Linked DNA regions of Homo sapiens: region 1 is linked to region 2. The links are contacts of gene promoters, found by promoter capture Hi-C in human tissues and cell types (Jung and others, 2019). All regions are on one chromosome and are shown on one strand. The core of a region is centred on a gene start or on the middle of the fragment in contact, and the rest is flanking DNA. Distances in the headings are between cores, read along the strand shown. Region 1 overlaps AVEN (apoptosis and caspase activation inhibitor). Region 2 holds the start of EMC4 (ER membrane protein complex subunit 4).

Region 1 (6,661 bases), core at 3,569-6,068, 200 kb before region 2:
TTAATGCCATCATCTGGCAGAACATCCCCTCTTCTCACACCACCTCACAATTCTGAAATGGATTTCAATTCTCACTGCACTTTCATTAGTACTTGCTCTGACTTACAGATGGGCAGCTGTAACTTCATAAAGCTATGTATGCCTTCATAAAAGCTCCTCATATCACATCATTCAAGCCCCTTGACTGAATTACGACCTTACTCTCCTTGTCATGAAAAGCTGTAAATGAAATTAGGCCAAATTTCGTAAGACACAAGATATAATCTCCACATAACTTTTTACTTGTTTTTATAAGAAAAGGGCCAAACTCCAGCCCTAACCAGTAAAAGCTGTTTGATTTGCCATTTTGTATTAAAAAACAAATGGACCTACCAAAATTCTCTTCCTTTTAAGCACCTACCTTATATGGAGACAGTCTATATGCACACACTGACCAAATGGTGAGGAATGAATCACTGGGCCATGCATCTGAAAAGTCTTTTTCTGCATATACACTTTACCTGACAGAAAATGATTTCATGTATGCTTCTCTAGCTTTCCAGCATCTGAAGCTCCTCTTTTGAATTTATTCTCCTTTTCAGTTCTTCCCCGATGAAGAGTCTATAAAATGCCTATCTTTTCTCATTTGTGGCCTGGGTGAATTTTTCTATGAAAAAATTGCATCTTTTTCTTTTTCTTTTTTTGGAGATGGAGTTTTGCTCTGTCGCCTCCCAAGTAGCTTAGGCTACAGGCACACACCACCCCACTCAGCTAAAAAATATTTTCTGTATCTTTTTTTTTTTTGAGACGGAGTTTCACTCTTGTTGCCCAGACTGGAGTACAATGGCGCCATCTTGGCTCACCACAACCTCTGCCTCCCGGGTTCAAGTGATTCTCCTGCCTCAGCCTCCTGAGTAGCTGGGATTTCAGGCACACACCACCATGCCCAGCTAAGTTTGTATTTTTAGTATATACGGGGTTTCTCCGTGTTGGTCAGGCTGGTCTGGAACTCCTGACCTCAGGTGAGCCACCGCGCCTGGCTTATTTTCTGTATCTTTAAGAGCACTTACACATGGCCGTGTAAGGTGGCTCATGCCTGTAATCCCAGCACTTTGGGAGGCCAAGGTGGGCAGATCATTTGAGGTCAGGAGTTTGAGACCAGCCTGGCTAAAATGGTGAAACCCCGTCTCTACTAAAAATACAAAAATTAACTGGACATGGTGGCAGGTGCCTGTAATCCCAGCTACTGGGGAGGCTGAGGCAGGAGAATCACTTGAACCCAGGAGGTGGAGGTTGCAGTGAGCCGAGGTTGCGCCACTGCACTCCAGCCTGGGTGGACAGCGCAAGACTCCATCTCAAAAATAAAAATAAAATAAAATAAAATAAGAGCACTTCCACATGGCAACATTAACATGAAAAAGAAGTGAGCACCCACAGCACTTGTGCAAGCAGCATTCTTAAAGTCCATAGAAAGCAAATGACAACTACTGCAAAATTTGTACTTAGAGAATTCAAGTGCAAATATTTTGTAGATGGAATAAGACGGCATTGTTTGCAATAAGGACAAGTACATGCATTATATTTAAAACCTACTCCTGCCACACAATGCATGACATTTGAAAGCTGTTTGGCTGGCATGCCCTTCTTTTCTAGCTGAACTGCTTTCTATTGCTCCTCAGACATCAAATGAATGGCATCATGGCCCCATGTTAGCAAAAATTCCTTCTTTCCAATCCTGACAATTTTAACCAGAATGGAGAAATAAGAAAACATTTTTCAGAGGCAGAACAATTAACAAGACAATTTTCCCCATGACAAGACAGAATACTACTATAATCTGCATCTCCCTTCTGCAGCTCTTTTCAATTGTGACCTTTAGGAAGCTCTCCCAACATTAGGGAGGAAAAAATATTTAATTAAAAGAAAGGGCAGCAAAGGCGCCTACAGAAGGGAGAAAGCTTTTACCTTGTATTAGAGAAAGGTGGATTTTCTCAAAGCTCCCCATCCATCAGAACAAAATGCAAATCCCAGGATCAGGACTACGCAGCAGGAAGGGTACACAAACTTTGAGGCTGGGCCACAGCCTGACATGCAAGCCTGAACATCTGCATGCTGGTAAAATTCCCTTGGAGTTAGAATACTAACATTATGGTTGCCTTACACCTTTTGCATAAGTATGAGATTATCTCTCTGCTTCACAGAATTTTAAAGACTCCAAGGATTCTGCCCACTGTGATTAAAAAAGGAAAGCATTCCCCCAACACACACACACTCTCCAGCTTACATTTTCCTGACCTTCTGGCTGGAAGGATGAGATTTCTCTTGGATTTTTGCTACCTCTGTACCACCACTGCAGCTCTGCTGAAAGCTTGCCTTTGGCTCAAAGCCAGATAGAAAAGAACAATGAGGCCGGGCGCGGTGGCTCACGCCTGTAATCCCAGCACTTTGGGAGGCCGAGGCGGGCGGATCACAAGGTCAGGAGTTCAAGACTAGCTTGGCCAACATGGTGAAACCCCCATCTCTACTAAAAACACAAAAATTAGCCTGGCGTGGTGGTGTGCGCCTGTAGTCCCAGCTACTCAGGAGGCTGAGGCAGAACTGCTTGAACCCAGGCAGAGGCTGCAGTGAACTGAGATCGCGCCACTGCGCTCCAGCCTGGCAACAGAGCGAGACTCGGTCTCAGAAAAAAAAAAAGGAAAAGAACAATGAGAAACTTACCCCTCTCATCCCCCACTCAGGTTGCTACTCCAGGCTTTCACTTCACAATCTGCCAGCTTTTCTTTACTTTTCTGAGTCCTCAGGTAATCTGCCCACTGAGTTTGGTTGCTATCAGCAAAAGAAATAGGCTGTGGTGGGCTAACCTCATCTTGGCCGAGTCCTCCCTAGTAATCTTAGTAACAGTTGTTGCGGCAGCATCTCTCTTGGCCACATCACATAATGATAGCCGATACACACCAGAGCTCAGGCGCAGCCCACCTCTCACCTTCCTCTTGATGATGCTGTCAGGGTAGAGAAAGCCTGGTCATTCATTCTTGCAAAACCTGAGATTCAGTGCACAATTTCTTAACCTCCTCTTAGGTGTCACCATTTATTTCAGACTCTAACAAAAGATGGAAGAAAATAAAAAAACTCTCTGACCTCTGGAACACTGTCCTATTCTTGCCCCTACTCTGTAAGCCTCTGTTGCTTGCCATCCCTTCAATCACGCCAGGCTTAAAAGGCCAGGTGAGCAGTTAAATATTAAAAGTAAACAGCTGCTTATTGTGTGCTGCTAGCAACTAAAAAGACCTAATCTATACACCTTCAGGCTGTGAAGGGCATCAAAGAAAGAAAACATGTGTTAGAAATTCTGACAGATGCCACGTTTTTGGCCAGGGAAATTTAAACTCATTCTGGCTCTTTTTATTGATGGCAAAATAGAGGACTCTATCCAGAGAGGAGCCCAGAGAGTGGATTTGATTTCAGATGTAAGCTAAACCTCTTCTCCCTTCACTGGTTTTAATCGTAACAGGAAAAGCATAAAACCTGCTACCAGAAAATAAATGTGAATGTTTCCAGAATACTGCAAGTAATCCCTTGCTTAAACACAAAATCCTTTATTCAATTACACAACAAATATCTACTGAGAGCTGATACTATGCCAGGCATTAGTCAGTGTGCTTGGATTATAGCAGTGAACAAGACCAATTCCATGCACCCATGAAGTTTGCATTCCACCAGAGGAGTCAAACAACAAAAAAGGAATACTTTATAATGCTATTATAAATACATAAGACACCATCACTTCAGGTAGTGATAAATGGTATCAAAATAAAGTAGGTATGAGATGAAGAGTGATGGGCGGCAATCTCTATGAAGAAACCTCTGAAGGCTGGGCGTGGTGGCTTACACCTATAATCCCAGCATTTTGGGAGGCCAAGGCCAAGACTGCACCACTGCCCTCCAGCCTGGGCAACAGAATGAGACCCTGTCTCAAAAAAAAAAAAAAAAAAAAAGAAGCACTTTGCTCACAGAATATTCATTAAGGAAAACTATCAAATTAAAACTACAAATTACTATAAATAAAAAGGAAGGCCAGGCACAGTGGCTCACATCTGTAATCCCAGCACTTTGGGAGGCCGAGGCGGGCGGATCATGAGGTCAGGAGTTCGAGACCAGCCTGACCAACATGGTGAAACCCCGTCTCTACTAAAAAAAAAAAAAAATACAAAAATTAGCCACGCATGGTGGCACACGCCTGTAATCCCAGCTACTCAGGAGGCTGAGGCAGGAGAATAGCTTGAACCCAAGAGGCAGAGGTTGCAGTGAGCCGAGATCGTGCCATTGCACTCCAGCCTGGGCGACAAAGCAAGACTCCTTCTCAAAAAAAAAAGGAAAAAATAAAAAGAAAGAAAGGTGGCGAGGCCGGGCATGGTGGCTCACACCTGTAATCCTAGCACTTTGGGAGGCCAAGGCAGGTGGATTACCTGAGGTCAGGATTTTGAGACCAGTAGAGAACCCCGTCTCTACTAAAAATACAAAAATTAGCTGGGCATGGTGGTAGGAGCCTGTAATCCAGCTACTTGGGAGGCTGAGGCAGGAGAATCGTTTGAGCCCGGGAGGCAGAGGATGCAATAAGCAGAGATCGCACCACTGCACTCCACCCTGGGCGATGGAGTGAGACTCCATCTCAAAAAAAAGGGTGGCATTTGAGGTGAGCATGTGAAAATGAATAAGATTCTGAAATATGAAGTGTGGGAGGGAAATGTAATTTACTAGAGTTTTGGTTGCAAACTATAGAAACCAACTCTGGCTAATTTAGGTAGAAAAGGAATTTACTAAAAGAATTTCTAGTAGCTTATAAAATCGACAAGAAGTTTAGAGAAATAGGCTGAATAAAAAATGAGCAGGAAGCAGGCAGCTGAGAACCCAGCCACAGGAACAATCAGAGAAGTAGACTAGAGTGGTTAGGATGCCATGGTAACTGCCATAGTGAAGACTCTCTTAAGTGTCCCTTCATCCATACATCATTGCTCAAGACTCGAAGCCTAATAAAGGACGTTATTGGGTCATCTGGTGAAACCTCTGTAAGGTTAAATAGAATTGTAGCAATGTTAATGTCCTGATTTTGATAATTGTGCAATGGTTATAAAAGATTTCCTTGCTTTTAGGAAATACACATTGAAGTGTTTAGGGGTAAAGACGCATCATATCCACCGCTCAAAGGTTCAGAAGAAAAAAAAATTGTGTGTGTGTGTTTTTGTTTTGGTTTGGTTTTGCGTGTGTGTGTGTGTTTGTGTGTGTGTGCGCATGTGTAAAGCGGAGGAAGGAGAAAAAGACAGGCACTGGACCTGTCCAAACTCAAGTGATCATCTTGCCCCACAAAGCCCGTGTTTACACTTACCACACACAATACCACATAATCTCACCACCCAGAGATAATCCTTACAGTTTTTATGTGCAGTCTTGCCTACCTGTCTTCCCTATTTTTATAATCACAATATATTTGTAGAATCGTCTTTTCAAATTGGAATATATCTATGTTTCTGATAATACACAACAGTAAAAAATATGAATAAAGGAAAGACAAAGTTCTACATAATCCCTATATTTTCTCTACTCCAAACACAGATTAAGTTTGATATTCTTCTACCCTTTTCAGAGTTTTAAATGCATACATATACCTTATAATTTCCACATATTGTCATTTTTTTTTTACTTAAAAGTCTTATGACATCTTCCCAGTTTTATGAGAAAAGAATATACATCAAATGTTAACAGTGGTTATTTCTGGATGATGATACTAAAGGGCACTTTTATTTTCTTCTTGGTATTTTTCCTACTATGTGACAGCAAAATAGATGAAGCTTTTAACCTCAGGGTGTAACTTTTAACCTTAGGATATAACTTTTAACCTTTTATATTAAAGGGGAGGAAAGGAAACACGGATTAATTTTGATGACAAGGGGAGATATGTTGAGAAAGGTCATACTTGAGATGAGTTTGGAATTGAAGAAATCATATAAGGAAATCAGGAGGTAATGTGTGTCAATCACATATAAGCTGACGTCACCCAGGATGTAGTAAAAAATATAAACTATAAATCAGGTACTCAAATTTTCCAAGGAATGATGAAAACAGGCCCATGAAAAGATAGACAATCAGAACAAGGATCACTGAGGACAAGAGGAAAAAAAATGATAGACTATCACATTTCACTAAGTAACTAAATCACTAGTTTTTGCCTTCTTAATACACTGATATGGATATGTGATCAATTCCAAATTGACAGTTTCAGAAAAAGTAAGTCGCTCACATTAAATATTAAAAACTTCCCCTGCGGTCTTTTGTTCAACCTTAAGAGAGTTCTGTGCTTTGGCTGAGCCAAAAACTCTGTTGTTCCAAAGACTAGAACTGTGGCCTACGTATAATAGAATTAAAGAGTGACATGATGTGTTTTGTCCCAAAGGAAGAAGTTTCTAACAATTAGAGATGCCCAAGAGTGGCAATGGCTGCTTCAAAAAATAGAATAGAAGTACTTCCAGAATGATAAAGACCTCTGCAAACCCACTCTACTACAAAAGCAACAAGAACACTGACAAAAATTGTCAACATATACTCTTTCAAAACTCTGCAAAGTAGCCAAAGACTCACAAAAGTCCAAGGAGTGTTTATTTAAAACAGCTAAATCTCAGTATGAACA
Region 2 (6,711 bases), core at 2,995-5,494:
AAAATTAAAGGAGATTCTTTACCAAACCATTTCTTGTTGTTTTCATATGTTATACTAACGGCACTAAGACTCTCTTGAGTGTGTGTGCAGAATATAATATGTAGAATTTCTCAAATTTATCTAATCTTGGAACCATCCTCAGCCTAGTCCTGATGTGTTCATTTTTTGGAACGGAGTTTCACAAATAATACTATGAGGATTCCTAGGATAAAGAAATAAATGATCCAGAGTACTCCCACTGAGGCCAAAGCAACTTTTTATTTTTTGTTTATTTATTTTTTTTGCGACAGAGCCTTGCTCTGTCCCCCAGGCTGGAGTACAGTGGCACAATCTTGGCTCACTGCAACCTCCACCTCCTGTGTTCAAGAAATTCTCTGCCTCAGCCTCCTGAGTAGCTGGGATTATAGATGACTGCCATCACGCCCAGCTAATTTTTTGTACTTTTAGTAGGGACGGGGTTTCACCATCTTGGCCAGGCTGGTCTTGAACTCCTGACCTCGTGATCCACCTGCCTTGGCCTCCCAAAGTGCTGGGATTACAGGCGTGAGCCACAGCACCCAGCCCAAAGCAACTTTAATTTAGGTTATAGTTTACACATTTTTATAGCAAGTAGGGGAGTATTTAAGTAGAAAGAATATATGATTCCAATGACTAACTTAATGTTTTCAAAAGTGTTCATTTAAAACTTATTAAAGCAGGGCCAGGTGTGGGCTCATGCCTGTAATCCCAGCACTTTGGGAGGCCAAGGCGGGAGGACTGCTTAAGCTCAGGAGTTTGAGACAAGCCTGGGCAACACAGTGAGACCCTGTCTCAAAAAAATAGTAAGTAAAAAAAAATTATTAAAATGTGGCTAGGAGCAGTGGCTCACGTCTGTAATCCCAGCACTTTGGGAGGCTGAGGCAGGCAGATCACGAGGTCAGGAGTTCGAGATCAGCCTGGCCAATGTGGTGACACCCTGTCTCCACTGAAAATACAAAAATTAGCCAGGCGTAGTGGCACACATCTGTAGTCTCAGCTACTTGGGAGGCTGAGGCAGAAGAATTGCTTGAACCTGGGAGGCGGAGGTTGCAGTGAGCCGAGATTGCGCCATTGCACTCCAGCCTGGCAACAGAGCAAGACTCCATCTCAAAAAAAAAAAAAAAAAAAAAAGTATTAAAATGTAATAAGAAGGCCAGGTGTAGTGGCTTATGCCTGTAATCATCACTTTGCGTGGGCGAGGTGGGTGGATCACCTGAGGTCAGGAGTTTGAGACTAGCCTGGCCAACACAGTGAAACCCCATTTCTACTAAAAATACAAAAATGAACAGGGCGTGGTGGCGGGCACCTGTAATCCCAGCTACTCAGGAGGCTGAGACAGGAAAATTGCTTGAACCTGGGAGGCAGAGGATGCAGTGAGCCAAGATCGTGCCACTGCACTTCAGCCTCGGTGACAGAGTGAGACTCTGTCTCAAAAAAAAAAAAGAAAAGTGTAATAAGATTATCTTGAAAATTAGACAAAATTGCGTGAAAATTATTGCCCCAATAGAATGTATATCCATTTTTATGTTTTATTTTGCACAAGTGTAGTTATAGTACATTCACATCTTGGTGTTTGTTTACTTTCAATTTAATTTACTCACATTCGCTAAACATTTATTCAGTACTTTCTATGTTCTAGGCAACAGGCTCAAAGATAATATATAGCTTCTGACCTGGGGGGATTTAGGGTTGCCTATAGAGGGGTAGAAATAAGTGCTCAGGGGACTTTAACAAACAAAATGCAATGTGGTAAGTGCTATTATGCAGCATATAATGCAACAAAGAAGAATGCCCAATAGGGTCAGAAGCTTGAGATAAATATAAGGTTCATGAGACAGAACGTGGTAAAGACAAAAAGTAGAAAGGAGCAGAAACACAATCTATAGTTAGGTCTTCCTACAATCAGATAGATACACATTTTAGGATGGATTGGAGAGGCAAAAGACTTCCATTTCTGCCTTGTTTAAGTAGTCTGCTATGAACACATATTTTTAAAATCAGAAAATAAAGTGGAGGTGGCAATCTTCAGCCTCTCTTACATCATCATCATCTTCAAGAGTCCCAACTTTTTTGTTGGCCAAGGAAGCCTTTTTCAACCTTACCTCCCACAGCATCTCCTTCCCCCTAACTCCAGCCATATCGAATAACTTGGAGTCAAAGAAATACAAATTAAAAAATAATACAGTACCATTTCAAACTATTAAAAAAATTATAGACTGTGAAATGTAAATGGTGCCATTTTTCCTAGTGGACATTTTAATTTTTTTTGTTGTTGTTTGCAGAGGCAAGGTCTCACTATGTTGCCTAGGCTGGTCTTGAACTTCTGAGCTAAAGCAATCCTCCTGCCTCAGCCTCCCAAAGTTCTGGGATGACAGGTGTGAGCCACCACGCCTGGCTCCTGTGGGCATTTAAAATGAAAATTCTTTAAAAATGTGCATACTCTTTGATCCAGCAACTCCAATTTCACTTCTAGGACTATAACTTTAGGAAATAAGAAAAGACATACAGATATGTTCACAGCAACACTGGTTATAAAAGGAAGGAAAACAGGAAACAATTTAAATGTCCAATAATAGGCTATATTATGAAAAAGGTATACCATACAAAACCCAATCACTTTAAAGAATGACATACATTATTTAATGACACGTCATTAAAAACACATCAATGGTGTTATTTGGTAATGATGTGATACATCATTAAAAACACCACATAACCTAGCACTTTGGGAGGCCGAGGCAGGCAGATCACCTGAGGTCGGGAGTTCGAAACCAGCCTGACCAACACGGTGAAATCCCATCTCTACTAAAAATACAAAATTAGCTGGACGTGGTGGCGTGCGCCTGTAATCCCTGGTACTCGGGAGGCTGAGGCAGGAGAATTGCTTGAACCCGGGAGACGGAGGTTGCAGTGAGCCGAGATAGTGCCATTGCACTCCAGCCTGGGCAACAAAAGCAAAACTCCGTCTCGAACAAAAACACAAACAAACCAAACACCAGATATGTGGTGGGCACTAATCTCACAAGCCTTGAAAGTAGGTAGATTATCCAACTTTTACATGAAGAGGCTGAAACAAATTCAACTTGCCCAAGGTCATACAATTATTAAGTGGTGAAACCAGGATTCAAAAGGAGGCCATCTGCTGGGTGCAGTGGCCCATGCCTTTGTAATCTCAACATTTTGGGAGGCCAAGGCAGGAGAATCACTTGAACCCAAGAGTTTGAGAGCAGCCTGAGCAACATAGCGAAACCCTGTCAAAACAAAACAAAACAAAACAAAACAAGACTGGGGCGTGGTGGCGCGCCCTGTGGTCCTAGCTCCTCGGAACGCTCAGGTTGGAAGGAACGCTCAGGTGGGAAGATCGCTTGAGCCGGGGAAGTCGAGGCTGCAGTGAGCCGTGATAGCGCCACTGCACTACAGCCTCGGCAACGGAGTGAAACCCTGTCTCAAAAAACAAACCCAAAACAAACAACAACAAACGCAGGCTAACTGAATACCGAGCCCATGTCCCCTTCCATGCCCACAATGCTGCCTTGCCTTTGTGCAGAATGTGGTTAGAACTGTTTACCTCGCAAGGTTACTGTGCAAGTGAAATGAAATAAACACATGACACAGTGGACATTCAATACTCAGAAACTACTAAGTAACTCGCTCAAGGTCAAGCTAGGATTTAAACCCAGGATTTGAATCTTTTGTTCCAGGGAGCGCGTAGGAGGTTAAGAAGCTTTTCTTGGCTTCCTTTTTTTTTTTTTTGAGACAGAGTTTCGCTCTTGCTGCCCAGGCTGGCGTGCAATCGCTCGGTCTCAGTTCACTGCAACCTCCGGCTCCCGGATCCAAGCGATTCTCCTGCCTCAGCCTCCTAAGTAGCTGGGATTACAGGCGCCCGCCACTAAGCCCGGCTAATATTTTGTATTTTTAGTAGAGACGGGGTTTCACCATGTTAGCCAGGCTGGTCTCGAACTCCTGACTTCAGGTGATCCGCCCACCAATTCTTAACGCTGAGTCAGTATGGGCTTTCCTTCAGCCCCATAAAGTGCACCTCAGAGGTCAGGGAACACATAACAAGGACATTCAAAAGGGGAGCGCGCGGAAGTGGCTTTAGGAAGCACTAAGTCTTGCCTGGTTTTTTTTCCTCCCTGCTTTTCTAAATCCAAACCCGGACTCCTCAACCCACAGCACCACCAATTTCCAGGGCGGAAATGACGTCGTATTCACGCGCCGGAAGTGCATTTGCAGAGTGAGACAAAGCGGAGAACGCTGGTGGGCCTGTTGTGGAGTACGCTTTGGACTGAGAAGCATCGAGGCTATAGGACGCAGCTGTTGCCATGACGGCCCAGGGGGGCCTGGTGGCTAACCGAGGCCGGCGCTTCAAGTGGGCCATTGAGCTAAGCGGGCCTGGAGGAGGCAGCAGGTGAGGCACCTGGGCAAGCTGTACATCACTGTTCATCCCAGAACTGCACCAGAGTAATGAGACCTGAGCCCTCAGGCATAACTCTGAAAAAGATGGGTGGCACACAGACATCACCTGGGGAGGTAGCGGCTTTTCTGCCGTGGAAGTTTCTCTGCTCAAACAATGCTTACATCAGTCCTCCTGATAAGTCAAAGGACTGAGGAACATACGAGGGGGCTTGGTCTAATCTGAGTAGGTGCATCTGAAGATCTTTATTCCTATGATTGGTAGATCAGGAAATGTGGGATAAGAAGTATCGGAGGTTGCAGCTTTAGTTTCTTGGTTTGGTTTTTTAGGGGTCGAAGTGACCGGGGCAGTGGCCAGGGAGACTCGCTCTACCCAGTCGGTTACTTGGACAAGCAAGTGCCTGATACCAGCGTGCAAGAGACAGACCGGATCCTGGTGGAGAAGGTACAGAGGTATAGATGTTACCGTAGCCCATGGGCCAGTCCTGAGTTACACACTCATCCTCTTCTCCTAGGTGGAGTTAACGTAGATAGCTCTTATCCTGAAGATTTGGAAACTAAACTGCTTGAGGCTGGTATTTCGGTATTTTATATATCAGCTACAAAAGTGCTTAATAATTTGAAAAATAGAAGATGTTTGGAACATAAGGTATAAGAAAGTAGGTTGAAAACTATCTTTTGGTGGCAACATCTTCCAGTTGAAGTGATCCTTTTTCTACTCTGGTTCCCTTACACCACATATCCAACTGTCAGGATACTCTGTTGGCTTTACCTACTACTTTTTCCTGTGTTCACCTCTCATCCTAATCCAAGCCACCATCCTTCATCTAGATTTCTGCAGTAGCCCGGCTAATTTTTGTATTTTTAGTACAGACAGGGTATCACCATGTTTGCCAGGCTGGTCTTGAACTCCTGACCTCAGGTGATCCATCCGCCTTGGCCTTCCAAAGTGCTGGGATTGCAGGCATGAGCCACCGCGCTCGGCCCGGGGCTATTTATATTTCTAATTTCTCCTGTCATTTTGTTACATTTTTTCTAGAAACTTATCCATTTCCTAAAATTTCAAATGTATTGATATAAAGTTGTTCATAATATGATCACTTCCATATATGCAAGATCTGTGATGTTCATTTTTTCATTCCTGATATTGAATATTTTGTCTCCTCTCCTTTCTTCATCAGGCTCACCAGTATTGATTTTTTAAAAATTATTTTCATTTATTTTTACAGGTCACTGTACCCATCACCAGTATTGATTTTATTAATCTTTTCAAAAATACTTGGGTTTTTTTCTAGTTTCTTGAAATGGATGCTTAGTTTATTTTTAGACTGCCATTACTTTTTTTCTTTTCTTTTGAGACAGTCTTGCTGTTGTCGCCGAGGCTGGAATGCAATAGCACGACCTTGGCTCACTGCAACCTCTGCCTCCCAGGGTCAAGCAATTCTCCTGCCTCAGCCTCCCGAGTAGCTGGGATTATAGGCACCCACCACCACGTCCAGCTAATTTTTTTGTATTTTTAGTAGAGACGGGGTTTCACCACGTTGGCCAGGCTGGTCTGAAACTCCTGACCTCAGGTGATCCACCAAGCTCGGCCTCCCAAAGTGCTGGGATTACAGGTGTGAGGCACCGCGCCCGGCCACATTGCCATTACTTTTAATGGCAACAACCGCAGTTACTTTTGCAGCAACCTGGTAGTATGTATTTAAGGTTATAAATTTCTCAGAACTCTAGCTGTGTCCCACGAGTTTTAAAATGTGGTACTTTTGCTATCATATAAATCTATTTTCCATTATAATTTCTTCATGTATCATTGTTAATTCCCAAACATAAGAGATTTTCTAGTTACTATAAAATTATTTCTAGTTTAATATCATTGTAGTCAAAGAATATGTTTTGTACAATTTGCATTCTTTGAGATTGACATTTTCTTCATGGCTCAGCGAGTGGTCAGTTTTTGTGAATATCTTGTTTGAAAAGAATGTGAATTCTGCAATTGTTGAGTGCAGTGTTACATGTCAGTTGGGTTAAGTTTGTTAATGTCATTCAAATCTTCTATGTCTTGATTTGCCTGCTAATTCTATTATTTCTGGAACTAAATTAGTTCGATGGTTCTATTAGTTATTGACTGAGGTGTGCTAATCTCCCATTATGTGGATTTATCTATTTCTTCAGTTGTAGATAGGACATTGATAGATACATAAGTACCAGGACAAAAGCAGGGAGATCTTTTTTCCAAAATCAGGAGAAAAAAATGACATCTGGAAAACCTATAGGGAA

What was found. Contacts are between HindIII fragments. The study calls those that stand out against the background at their distance.
Region 1: a contact is called between a fragment that was not itself captured here and the fragment with the promoter of EMC4 in region 2, in 2 of the 25 tissues and cell types used here (dorsolateral prefrontal cortex and hippocampus).

What each region holds. Positions count from the first base shown.
Region 1 is chr15:34,020,520-34,027,180 of GRCh38, forward strand. The region is part of intron 1 of AVEN (apoptosis and caspase activation inhibitor); the gene reads right to left. All of the region lies in intron 1 of CHRM5 (cholinergic receptor muscarinic 5), which reads left to right. Among named protein-coding and RNA genes, the nearest start is that of AVEN, 15 kb to the right of the region's middle. RefSeq lists enhancers at 1,948-2,448, 2,449-2,949. The HindIII fragment of the contact is 5,352 bases long and covers 2,143-6,661 here.
Region 2 is chr15:34,220,772-34,227,482 of GRCh38, forward strand. It overlaps EMC4 (ER membrane protein complex subunit 4), which reads left to right and starts at 4,245. Exons shown (of 5, transcript NM_016454.4): 1 at 4,245-4,429; 2 at 4,765-4,879. The coding sequence starts at 4,344. RefSeq lists an enhancer at 4,559-4,608. The HindIII fragment of the contact is 15,250 bases long and covers 2,785-6,711 here.